2 separate regions of the Homo sapiens genome follow, and region 1 is linked to region 2. The links are contacts of gene promoters, found by promoter capture Hi-C in blood cells and fetal thymus (Javierre and others, 2016). All regions are on one chromosome and are shown on one strand. Each heading gives the region's core, a stretch centred on a gene start or on the middle of the fragment in contact. The rest is flanking DNA. Distances are from core to core; before and after follow the strand shown.

Region 1 (6,379 bases), core at 1,078-3,577, 600 kb after region 2:
AAACTGACAAGAAACGGGCTTGTCCAATCGTCAGCTCTGTTGTTACAAACCTGGGGTTTGCTCAGGCTCGCCCCGACCAGCCAGGGCTGAATGTGGCAGGAGCGTCTCCCAGCCGGCGCCCCGCAGGCACTGGCTTCTTCTGAGCATCCCCTTAGCTGGGGGCTGGTAGGGGAGGAACGGGGCCTTTGGGATCACTTTATTCTCTCCAAACTGGTCACAGCACCCATCCCTACACCCCACCCTAGGCCCTGTGACCCCCACAATGAGGGTCAGCCAGGGAGGCCAGCTGCCTCTCCAAAGCCACCCCACAGGACCCTCCGAGGCACCGAGCCCCATGATGAAGGTAATCTCAGATCAATGGGGTGTCACCTGTGAACTCCCAGGAGGGCCCCCTGGCAGGCACTTCCTGTCCCTGGGAGCCTCGCTAAGTGTCTGGGGGCTGGGCGGCCCCCCAACCTTTCCTGCACAGAAAAGCAAGCTCACATGGCCTGGCGCAGCCTGCTCATCAAACAAGCCCCGAGCAGGTGCTGTGGCCAAGGGCCGGCTGAAGGCCTGGCCCAGGGGAGCTGCAGGGAGCCAGGAGACCCCAGACCACCTTGAGAGGCAAGCAGCGTTGGCCAGTGAAAATCAGCCTCACCTGCACCTGTACCTGTGGTGGCTCCTATGTAACAAGTGGACTAGACCATCACTGACCCCCAGCAGCCTGGAAGAGGCCCAGACCCGTGTGTCAGGGGTGAGAGGGGCTGTCCCTCCGAGAAGAGAAGCAAGACTTAGGCAGAAGGGGTACAGGGCCGGGGGCTGCACACAAAGACCCTAGGAGAATCCTATGCCCCAATTCAGGGAACATCTTGCAAATATGAGGGGCTGGGGTGGGAGGCAGCTCGTCAGAAAAGCACTGAGAAATGTGGCAGGGCAAGTGGCACAGCGACTACTTCAAGGCCTAGGTACAACCTTGTGAGACTGCAATGCAACCAGCTCCTGGAGCACAGTGGGACTGATGTACATTCCTAACAAGAACCTCAGGCTCAATACAGTCAATAATTAACCTAAAGGAATCAGCTTCACAAAGAGCCAGGGTTTGACCAACTTCTCAGAAAGATCAGCCACTGCTGCACATGGCAAAGCCCCAACCTACTCTACCAGGCCCAGCAGAGCACAGGAGGTGAAATGCTTCCTGCTAGGCGATGCTGACCTCGACCTAGCCACCTGACATGCCACCACCTGTCTGCTTTGGGCAGGGTAGGAAAGGCTTCCAGTTAAAGTACAAAACACTTTTCAACCAAGCTATGCAATATCCTAAGTGATCCACCTTAAGTGGAGAAAGCCTCCCTCCAACCAGGCCACCCAAGAAATAAGGGACTGGTCGCTAGAAATAACAGAAGATCCTAAGGATGTGAGCTGGTGAGTCAGTCCAGGTAGGTGCTTGTTTACTTTGCTCTTCCAATATAAGAAAGTGGTGTGAAAATTTTCACTGATGATTAAAGCTCACACACATCCCCAAGAGATAAAACGAATGCCCCTATGGAGAGGGTTCCCTTTCAGAACCTAACCACTGGCTGGTATTCAAAGTGGTTTGGATTTCATCAAAATAACCACAGCACCCCTCCTGGCCTGAGAAGTTCCCAGAATCTGAGGCAGGGGAGAAAAAGTGCACAGCCTGGGCCAGCATCTCACCTTTGAACTAGTGGTGATTTGATGACACTCGTCACCACTCTACTGGTGTTTCCAAGAAACACTGGATTTGAGGGTTACGGCAAAAAGCCACCACTATCTCTGCTGTGTAGTCTCCTAGCCAAGGACGAAAATGCAAAGGGAGAGGACAGGCCTCTCATCCACAGAGGCGTCACAGTCACGGTATGGGGCTGCAGCACGCACTGCCACCCCAGACACAGGCATCACAACGATTCTGCAGAAAAGCTGGGGCTTAGCGGCCCCATCACTCAATCAGCCGAGCATTCGAAACCAGGTCTGCCAGGCAGCAAAGGCTAAATGGTATTTTAAAAAGGTGTCGCTTCTGAGTGTATGTGTTCAAGGAATCTCTAGGTAAAATACAAGCATAGCTTCCATGTAGAAGGTAAGCTTCATTAAAGGATAAATAATTAAAACGTGCTAAATTGAGCCTTACATATGAACCATCAAAATCAACTGTAAACAGTGAAATCTACAACAACAAAGAGGTACTGTTCAAGAACATTCTCCCTACCTCTCAAATTATGCACAGACGACAACCGACCCACCGAATTTAACACGGGCGGCTCTGCGTCCTTCCCATTCGTCTTTGTTACCTTGAACACTCCTGCTAGGTAGGTACAGGCAGGTTCCATTCTGACTTTTGGACTGGGAAACTGGGGTGCAGGAGGGCCCCATGGCACGGCCACAGAACTTGAATGCAAGGCCCTTCCCTAGCGGGTCGGTCTCGAAATTAAGTCAGCTAAAACGAGAGTGTGCGGCGAGGAAGCGCTGGGCGGACGGATCAACACCCCGGGCCCCGTGCCGGACCCCACTGCCAGGCCCGAGCCCCGGAGCTCCACCGCGCAAGCGCCGGGCGCCCGGGAAGCCTCGCCCGAGCCAAGCCGAAGCTTCCGACCGAAATAATTACAGTCTTACACCAATTTGTGTTCCAACGTAAATTACTAAGTAAGTCGAACGGAGGCTAACTCCACTCACAAAGCCCAGAGGCCCACATGGCAATTTTTCTAAGCCCTGCGCAGACCGCAGCGCCCCGGTGGGTCCCGGGCGGGCCGGACGCGCCTCCCAAGGGCGCGGGTCCGAGGCGCAAGGCGAGCTGGAGACCCCGAAAACCAGGGCCACTCGGGGAGTGTCAGGAAGCACGACTGGGCGCCTTAGGACGTCCGGGCAGACGCGGCCCCCGAGGAGCCCCAGAGGAGCCCCAGAGGAGCCGCCTGACCCGGCCCCGACGTGCGCGATCGAGCCCGGGCTCGCCAAAGCCCCCGCGCCCCTCCGGCCCGGACAGGCCGAGTGGACATTGTCGGAGCCCCGCGGCCTCGCCGGCAATTGGTTTCCCCCCCGAAGCTGCTCCGGGGGTGAGTTCGGGAGAGAGAGGCAGGACCCCGGGACCAGAGCACCCCGACCCCGACCCCAGCCCGGGCCCCAGCCGCCCCAGCGCCCCGCCCGGGCCGCTCACCTGTCGTCGACGTGCAGGCTGGGCGAGCACTTGATGGCCAGCCAGGTCTTCCAGTGGACATGGCGCACCTTGTACACCTGCCCGAAGCCGCCCGAGCCCACCTTCTCCCAGCCCGTGAACTCGCCCGCGTCGAAGGTGCGCAGCAGCGCCAGGGCCCATGGGGTCCCGCCGTCGCCCTCCATCGCGCACGTCTAGCCAGCGCCGCGGCGGCTGCCCAGGTGCCCAGGTGCGCGCTCCGCCCTGTTACGTCACTTCCGTAGGTCGTCCCGCCCCCAGGCCCCGCCCACTTACCCGCCCCCCGGGCGCCCTCTCTGCCAGCGCCCGGTGACTGCGGACGGATGAATAGACGCTGCGGGTCACTGCGCTCTCCCCTGGGTGAGCAGAGCTTCTCACGCTTCTCACGGGTCTCGACGTGCGCATCAGCTGCCCTGCTTTTCTTTGCTTTTTTTTTTTCCTTAATTGCGGAGTCACATGCAGTTGTAAGAAATCATTCACTTTGCCTAGTTTCCCCCAGTGTTACCACTTTGCAAAACTTTGCCAAAAAAAAAAGTCCAATCTCACAACCAGGATATTGACTTTGATACAGTCACCGATCTTATTCAGTTTTGCCGTTTTACTCGTCTTCCTTTGCATGTATTAGTTTTACACAATGTAATCATCTGTGTACCTTCCCGTATCCACCCCCACCTGGCCACTCCTGTGGCGATTTTACAGCCGCACCCCGGAGCCCTGGCATCACTAATCTTTCCTCTATTTCTAAAATTGTTTTATTTCAGAAATGTTATGTTTAGATACAGGAATCATACAGCGCCTAATTTTTTGAAATTGGCTTTCTTCACTCGTTAGTCTAATTCCCTGCAGGTTCACGTCTTGCTTTTTTACACGAGTTTCCTCTCAGAAAGTAACTTTTTTTAAAAAATTACCCAACAGCAAATCTAAAGTCCATTTCAAATGCAAGAGTTCCCTCATCCTTTCCTAAATAACAGCCTCTTTTTACAGGTAGAACAGATGGTTTGAAAAGGAAAGATTTTTTTTTCACATATGGGGAAAAAAAATTCCCAGCCTTGGAAGGATATTTGGGTTAGAGGCCGAAGTGCATCACAGATCACGCACGCGTCCACACCTCAGAAAACACTCACTCATTCCTGAGACGCAACGGTGAGTGAAGGCTTATTTTTGGCCACAGGAGATTAATAATGAAGACAGGAGGGCGGAGCTAAAGGAGAGGGTATTTTAACGACATTAACTGTGTTTTTGTGTTAGTAACTCGGAAAGAGAGAGGCTGCCCCAAGTCAGCGCATTGAAAGCCGCAGACCTAGTGTCTCCAGGCTCCCCCTTCCAAACGGGCGCGGACCTTCTTTCATAGCCTGTAGCGGGGAGCCGCGTCTCCCCACTGCCTCCCCACTCCCATCCGGCCGCTCTTTGGAGGGAACTCACACATCCCAACATGACGATGCTTGCTCGGGGGGCCTCCTGGGGGGACCAGGGAGCCACTTCCTTTCCCACATACTCCGGAAATTAAAGTTGGTCTCCTTAAGGCTGGAGTGGCAAATAGTTGTTTTAAGCTTGTCACAAATGTAACTTACATTTGGACTAATGTTTTAAAAAATAATTGGAGTTTTGAATCTACGAAGATACCTTGGAAGTAAACATAGTTATTATTTTGGTGGGAAAAAAATGAATGGACTTGAAAGTGAGTCACCTGTCCTGTTCCCGGGGCTCAGCTCTAGCAAAGTACCTTTCTCCATCTACAGTCTCCGGCACACAGCTCCGCAGCTGGGGGTGACTAAGAGCCCACACCACGCAAGTAATAAAACGCTCCAATTTCATTTATTTAATCATCTGTGTGCTTCATTTGACAAATATTTATGGAGTGTCTGCTGCTAGCTCAGTGCCTGGTGCCTGGGACTGAAGACCAGAGCCCCCTGGAGACCAAAAGAGCCAGCTCCCAGCTGTGAGCAGATCGGGTCCAAAGATCACGGGCTCGGCGGCAGGAACCTGGTTTGGTATCCGGCTCCTCTGCGGACTTTGAAGTGCTTTACCGATTCACATGACAACTGGTAAAACGAAAACAAACACCTTTCCAGGAATTGTGAATTCGAGTTCCAGACCCTCTGGGATTCCGGGAGCGCAGCTGCTATTTATGTTAACAGTCATTGGTCCCAGGCTGGTGAGGTTAGAATTTCCAAGTATAAAAGTAATTTAGTTTCGTTTTAAATACATTTTAGGGCCAAAGAAAAGTGGAACGATTTAAAGAAAAAGATGAAATGAATAATAGGGCAAGTTGGGAGGTGGCTGTCCTGAGGTTTCATGGGACAACATTAATTAACCTCATGAAGTGCCTGCATGGACAACGTGCCCGGTGTGGTTACAAACAAACCAATCAGCACAGATCCTGGGTGGAAAGCAGGGCGCAGCCACGGAGGCACAGTAGGGGTGCAGACTTGAAGGTTTTTAGGAGGTAAGCCCCGAGGGCACGAAGCTCCACGGAGAGACTGTTGACCCGCCTGGGAGTGCAGTGCAGGTGAGGAGGGGAGGGACGACGAGGGGAGACAATGGGGGGTGGGAGGTGGGAAGGAGGAGTTGGGGAAGGGGGCTGTCTGCTGACATTTGCAAGCCCCCACTCCCCCACTACCCTGTGTTCCTCCTGGCCCCTTCCCCAGAAGAATTCCAAGCCAGTTTCCTCCTATACTGGATGTCCTGACAGCGAATCTAAATAGGTGATCCCTTGAGCTCCAGGTCCCCAAGCTGTGCCCTTCTTCATAGGGGGCCATTTAGCACTGACCCACCCAGCAGGCAGCCCAAGGTCCCTGGTCTGGAAGTGCCAGGAAGCTGCCTTTAACATCCTACCGCAGGGAACAATGAAGGTTGCCGGCCAGGGAGAAGACAGGATAGAGACGTCTCTGGGTTTGCAGCCAGCCTGCCTCAGATGGGGTCCCAGGCTGTGACCATGGTGCATTTGCCTGTCCCTGACATGTGGGATAGAGGGACCTGCTTCGAGATGTCGGTGGGGATCCACGCAGATGATAATTATATGTGTGTGGCACATGCCAGGCCATGGGTGAATAGTGAGATTTTCAATTGAGTCATTTTCGTCTTTGTCCTTCTCAGGGTCCTGGAGCAACTCAACCCTTGTAAGTGCATGGCTCAGTGAGATCGTGGAGCTGACATAGGGCTGACCTGGCTCTCAGAGGCCCCAGAATAAAGCTGGAGCCCCTGGGGTCCACCTGCTGG
Region 2 (5,748 bases), core at 606-3,105:
CAATGGCCCTAATACATTTCATGTGCTTTTCAGAAAGATTATATTCTTCCCAGAGCTGTCTGAATGTCTTTTTGAACCCCTCAAGACTGGACACCAAGGAGTATAAATAATCATTTTAAAAAAAATCACATTCCCTCCACAACCTTGAATCTGAAACGTGAATATATGAATAGAAGGGCTCTGGAATAACTATGCAGATTTATGGAGAATATCAACTTAAGTTATATCACGGGATCCAGCTATGCCTTTCTTCATGGAGTTGGGGATTTGTTAAAGTTGAGATATAGTTTGGGGGAAGTGTGATTTATGGTTAAAGTCATCTGAAAATCAATACATTTGAAGATCTCTGACATAAAGGTCCCTTGCAGAGCTAGACGTGATTCTAAAATTGGGAACACAGGAATAAAAATCAAATCTTGAGTAGAAGTAGCTGAAAATTGCAGTGATTCGGGGAAGCTTGGCTTCTAACTCCCCACTGTTTGAAGATGGGCTTGTTTGTTTTTTAAAACAGCCAACATAATTCAGCTGGAGGAGGTACAAAGAATTTTCTATTCCTTGTTTCTGTAGAAATCGATGGACTTTAGCTTGTCTAATTGTCCCCCCTGCCTTTAGTATCTAAAATAAAATAACCCTCGTTGCTTGCATTACTCAACGCATTTCTGCGTCTTGGCGTCTATGGCTAAACGAGTATTAATTAGACAGTCCGCAGAGAGCTGGCTGGGGATAGAAGGGGAGGTGGGGGAGAAGGGCAGGGATCACAGCAGGGTGGACTCGTGGCCCTGATTTGGGATCCTGACAGCAACTTACTAGGTGGCCTGAGGGCTGGGTGCCAGGGGAGGCAGCGGGTTCCAGTAGCATCTGACCTGCATTAGGGACAGGGGCGCGGCGGAGGGGGCGAAGGGGGCGGGGGTGGGGGGAAGGTGGCTGGGGTGAAGCCCAGCTTCGCAGCTAGCTGTGGGCAACAGAGGGAGTAAGGGGGGGCAATGAGGCTGGGGCCAGGCGCCAGCAGCAGCCACGCCCCCCACCTCCCCCGATTTTTAGGGAAAATTCTCCAAAGCTCTCGCATCCTCCTCTGCCTCCTTCCACCCTCCACCCTCCCAGCCTCCACTGAGACCTCTTTAAAACCACCCAGGGGCCGCCGGGGGATGAGGCCGGGGAACGGGCTGGACTGAGGGCGGGGGCTCGGGGGCAGCGGACGGGAAACGCCTCGAAAGCAGCCAGACCCGGCGACTGAAATGAGGCGGAGGAGCTTGGCGAGGGGAGGCGCAGGCTCGGAAAGGCGCGCGAGGCTCCAGGCTCCTTCCCGATCCACCGCTCTCCTCGCTGACCTCCGAGTCACCCCCGGAAGCTCCCGCCACTGCCGGGCGAATAGACCCCCGCGGACCCCCAAGCGCGCGGGGCCGGGGCCCTAGTTCAGGCCCTCGCTGCCCCTTTAAGGGTTCTCGAAACTTTCCCCCCGGTATCAGATGAGCCTCGTCACATCCGTTGGCCGTGGCCGCTGGGGCGCTTTCCGAGGAAATTCGGGACTCGAGTTTCCCGGGGAAGAGGCGCGGCCTGAGCCCGGCGAGGGTGGGGAGGGCAGGCGCAGGTGGACCCCGGCGCCCCCCGAGCCCCGCTGTGACCTTGGCCGCGGGGGAGGGGCTGGGCCGCTGCGGGGCAGTCGCGGCCGCCAGAGGGGGCAGCGGAGAAGAACTTGCCCAACTTGGCGGCGCGGGCTGGGGCGGCTCTGCGCCTCCGCGCCCGCCTCCCCGGCCTCCGCCTTCTCCCCTCCCGCGAGCCTCCTCCCCTCCCGCGAGCCTCCTCCCCTGGGCCCTCCTCCCGTCCTCCCCGCCGCCGCCGGTCCCGGTGCGCGCCCATCCCTGCCCGCAGCCCCGCGCGCCGGCCGAGTCGCTGAGCCGCGGCTGCCGGACGGGACGGGACCGGCTAGGCTGGGCGCGCCCCCCGGGCCCCGCCGTGGGCATGGGCGCACTGGCCCGGGCGCTGCTGCTGCCTCTGCTGGCCCAGTGGCTCCTGCGCGCCGCCCCGGAGCTGGCCCCCGCGCCCTTCACGCTGCCCCTCCGGGTGGCCGCGGCCACGAACCGCGTAGTTGCGCCCACCCCGGGACCCGGGACCCCTGCCGAGCGCCACGCCGACGGCTTGGCGCTCGCCCTGGAGCCTGCCCTGGCGTCCCCCGCGGGCGCCGCCAACTTCTTGGCCATGGTAGACAACCTGCAGGGGGACTCTGGCCGCGGCTACTACCTGGAGATGCTGATCGGGACCCCCCCGCAGAAGGTAGGGACCCCCGGCTGCTGCCGCGGGCTTTTCGGGCTCGTTGGAGGGAGGGGGCTGTCCAGAGACGCCTCCACGCGGCTTAGCGTCGCCCCCAAAGCAGCAGCTGTCCCCGCACAGAAGAGCGGGGAACGCAGAGGGGCTCGGGTGGGCCGGGGAGCGGGGGCGCTCGCTCTTGAGTCGCGGAGGACGGCAGCCCCCGCCCGGGGCGCACTGAGGGGTGTGCGCGAGTGTTTCAGAACTTGTGAGCTCCCCCTCCGCGGGGCTGGGCGGGAGAGGAGACCTGGAACTTGCCGCCTCCAATAACGTGATTTCCTTCTTGCGGGCGACACCTACTTCCAGCGGGAGACGGAGCGGTGGGCCTTGGGCGACGGGCTATTATGGGGAAAATCACCTCGTGTTCATACCCTCCCTCCCCCCCGCCCCCCCCCCACCCCACCACCATGCTGTCTCATTGCTAAAGAGGCTCGTGGCCGGCTTCCAAAGGCGCAGTACCCTTTAAAAAGGATTTATGCATGAGCTCAGCTAAAAGCAACCCGGTTAAGAAGTGGCTCGCTTGCTGCTCTGAGGAAGGAGCAGCGTCTCCCCTGCGCCCGCTTTCCTTTCTCGGAGTTGGTTTGTCAGCTGTGTCCTCGCTCATCCGGCGGCCCTGCCCCTCTGCACGGAGCGATGCATCTACACGCGGGTGTGCAGAGTGTGAAAAGCATTCCAGCTACCGGGAAAAAAACAGGGGCTGAGTGAGGTGTCCGGGGACCAAGTGGTATCCCGATTACAACACAAAAATAAAATCAAACAGCTTTCCTTTTCTCTTACTCTGATGTTCATTTACTAACACTTTTTGTAGCAAGAAACAAATGTTCCCAAGCACAGTGATCTGAAAAAAAAAAAAAAAAAATCCCAATTGATCTGCCCCCTCCTACTTTCAAACTGTCTAATCCAAGTGGGATTTGAAGTCCTTTGCTCAATTGAATGCACTATTTGAAGATAGTTTATTTTTATTTTTAACATTGTCATTTGGGTTTTGATTCAGCTATGATTCCCCCATAAATAGAACATACTCATGACTTTTGTATAATTCTCATTAAATTATTCAAGACTTTAAGAGGAAAGACATGCCATGCTAATTCTTTTAAAAAAGGAAACTGCCGAATAACTTCTGTAGTTGTTTAATTAGTTTAGGGGGAAAAAAAAACCTTCAAAAGCGTATATTCAAACTTTGATTCTAGTTGCCTTTCGTCTAAGTCATGGGAAGCCACGTGAGTGATCTTTGCCATCTCCAGGAGTGGATGGTTAGAGGGAGGGAATAGGAATCCCCATCAGCTGAGGGAGCTTAACTTGGCTGTAAGATGTGGTCTTGGTGCAGCCAACACGTGGGAACATGTGCCTGGTGCTGAGAACCTTGGAAATATGACAAGATATTGAGGAAGAACCTCTTCTGTGACCTGCAGAGAATCTTTTGGAACAGGCCTTGAATGAATCCCCATTGGACATGTGTGCTTTGATGCGAGGGAATTCTCTCTACTAAAAGTAAATGTGGGTGGTCTGAGGGCTATGATAAAAGAAGCCCTGAAACCCTCCCTCCAGAGCAAAGGGGAAAGGGAGAAGCCTGAAGAAGGACTAAAAAATACTTAACTTTGGCAATCAAAAAAAAAAAGCTTTTATAAATAATAACTTGCCTGTTAATTAATTCAATGACCTTTATTTTAAAATGATGAGGTTTAATTAATTTAATTAACAGAAATGTATTGAGTACCTAGGCTCCTGTCTTTACCGTAGCCAAGGCAGTAGTTGGTTCAAGATTACTTCTCAACCATTAGCATGTTTCCAGGGAGCGCTGCTTCTACAGAGACAGATTTAATTTTTACATGTGATGGGGAATGAAATATCCTGTACCTCCCTCCTGGCTTGATTTAGCGATAAGCTGCTTTATAACCAAATCTTTCCAAATGCCTACTGTAAAGTCAGGCTTTCCTGACTACTGCATTAGGATTCACTACCTGCCTGTGTTGCCCTGAAATGTCTCTGACCACCAGCAGGGTGTCAGCAGCCGGCTAGAGGGGGCAGCAGTGAGGTGACTTCTGAACCTGGAGTGAGCTTTCCTGCTCTATTAATGGCCAGGAGTCATGCATTTATTCTCTGCTGATTCTCTGAAGCCTAAAATAAAAATTGCTTAGGTGGAGAGAAAAATGGAATTGTAAATTCAAGCAATAAATAACCAAGAATTTTTCAAGAATTAAGTAATAGTCATAGACAATGTCTGAAAGCTCAGTACGTGACAAGCACTGCGCTCTGTGCTTTAGGTGTGCTTTCCCAGGAATCCCCACCCACCACCCACCACCCCTCGGGGGTCTTATACGCATTTGGGGGTGGGAAAACTGAAGCTCGGAGAGACTGAATGACTTTCCAGGGCAACAGGGCAAGAAAGAGGGAGGGCCAAAAATGGAAGCCAGGGAGCTGAACTTCAGAAGCCAAGTTCTGAACCACCAGACAGATAACGACTTCCTTCCCTTCATGCCTCCTGATCTCTTTGGTTTTGGCCTCAAACTACCCTTTCTAGCCAGAGAACCCTGAACGTACACCCCAAGGTGTTAGGGACTTATTGTATGACTGCAACTGGACCCTCCGGAACTCCGTGCTGTTCCCCCATCTCCTCTTTCCTTCAGCACTGCTGAATGAGCAACAGAATGAAGGGCTGGATCCAGGTGTGCACGGGAGAGGCCTTGAGAGGAGAGGTTCAACAGGAACCAGAGCCCTCCAGCTCCCCTTCTTTTATGGGAAAGTCAACTGTTGGAAGTGTGCTTGTTCCCCGAAGGCTTTAATCAGGAACTAGAGGTCCATTGTTTAAAGCCCAGTGACTCTGTGAGGAGTCACAGGCATGTGCCCGGAAGCCCGCCTGAGAGCTGCAAGGCGTGTGTGCTGGCAGGCAGGGCCACGTTGGCATGGAGATGACTGCCAGGTTTGCGGCTGATCCCATTATGTGGGTTCTTTCGAACTGTAGAACTTTTGAACAGTTCTTTCAACCAGCACCTGCTTGAACCGTGCAATTTGGTCTTATTAATAATAACACTCTTCTAAAGTAATTATAATTACAGCAATTTCTATTATGAAAAAAGAGACTTTCATGTTAACACAATAACTCCAGCTGAAGACAGGAGAAGGTGTGCAGCCATATACCTTGTAGTAGCTTCAAAAAAAGCCTTTGGGATTCTTTTTCTGAAAGATTTTCTGTCATCTCCACTAACATAGGTAAAGCAGACAGCAAAACTATTCTCATACCTGAACACTTGAATGTAAAGGGCCACCTAATTATTTTGGCGAATCCTATTTTAATCATGGTGCATTCACTTGATTATCAGCCTCTTAGTACACAATTATTTGGAAGACTTGTATTGAAAATATGGATCCAGCATATGCAATAAGAGTTTGTGTTCTTCAGAAGAAGCCATCCAGGCTCCCCAAATGAAGCTGACTGTAGGTGAG

Evidence for each region. The method cuts DNA at HindIII sites, captures the fragments that hold promoters and counts their contacts. A CHiCAGO score of 5 or more calls a contact.
Region 1: a contact is called between a fragment that was not itself captured here and the fragment with the promoter of BACE2 in region 2, in 1 of 17 cell types (naive B cells). The highest score is 5.1, in naive B cells.

Annotation. Positions count from the first base shown.
Region 1 is chr21:41,763,715-41,770,093 of GRCh38, forward strand. RIPK4 (receptor interacting serine/threonine kinase 4) reads right to left here and starts at 3,338. Exons shown (of 8, transcript NM_020639.3): 1 at 3,146-3,338. The coding sequence starts at 3,327. LOC102724800 (a long non-coding RNA gene) reads left to right here and starts at 3,453. Exons shown (of 5, transcript XR_937745.3): 1 at 3,453-3,520; 2 at 4,145-4,303; 3 at 4,900-5,669. RefSeq lists enhancers at 1-451, 1-189, 452-1,050, 4,955-5,249. The HindIII fragment of the contact is 500 bases long and covers 2,078-2,577 here.
Region 2 is chr21:41,166,305-41,172,052 of GRCh38, forward strand. It overlaps BACE2 (beta-secretase 2), which reads left to right and starts at 1,856. Exons shown (of 9, transcript NM_012105.5): 1 at 1,856-2,271. The coding sequence starts at 1,960. MIR3197 (microRNA 3197) reads left to right here and starts at 1,253; the gene lies at 1,253-1,325. RefSeq lists a silencer at 1,415-1,864. The HindIII fragment of the contact is 3,467 bases long and covers 455-3,921 here.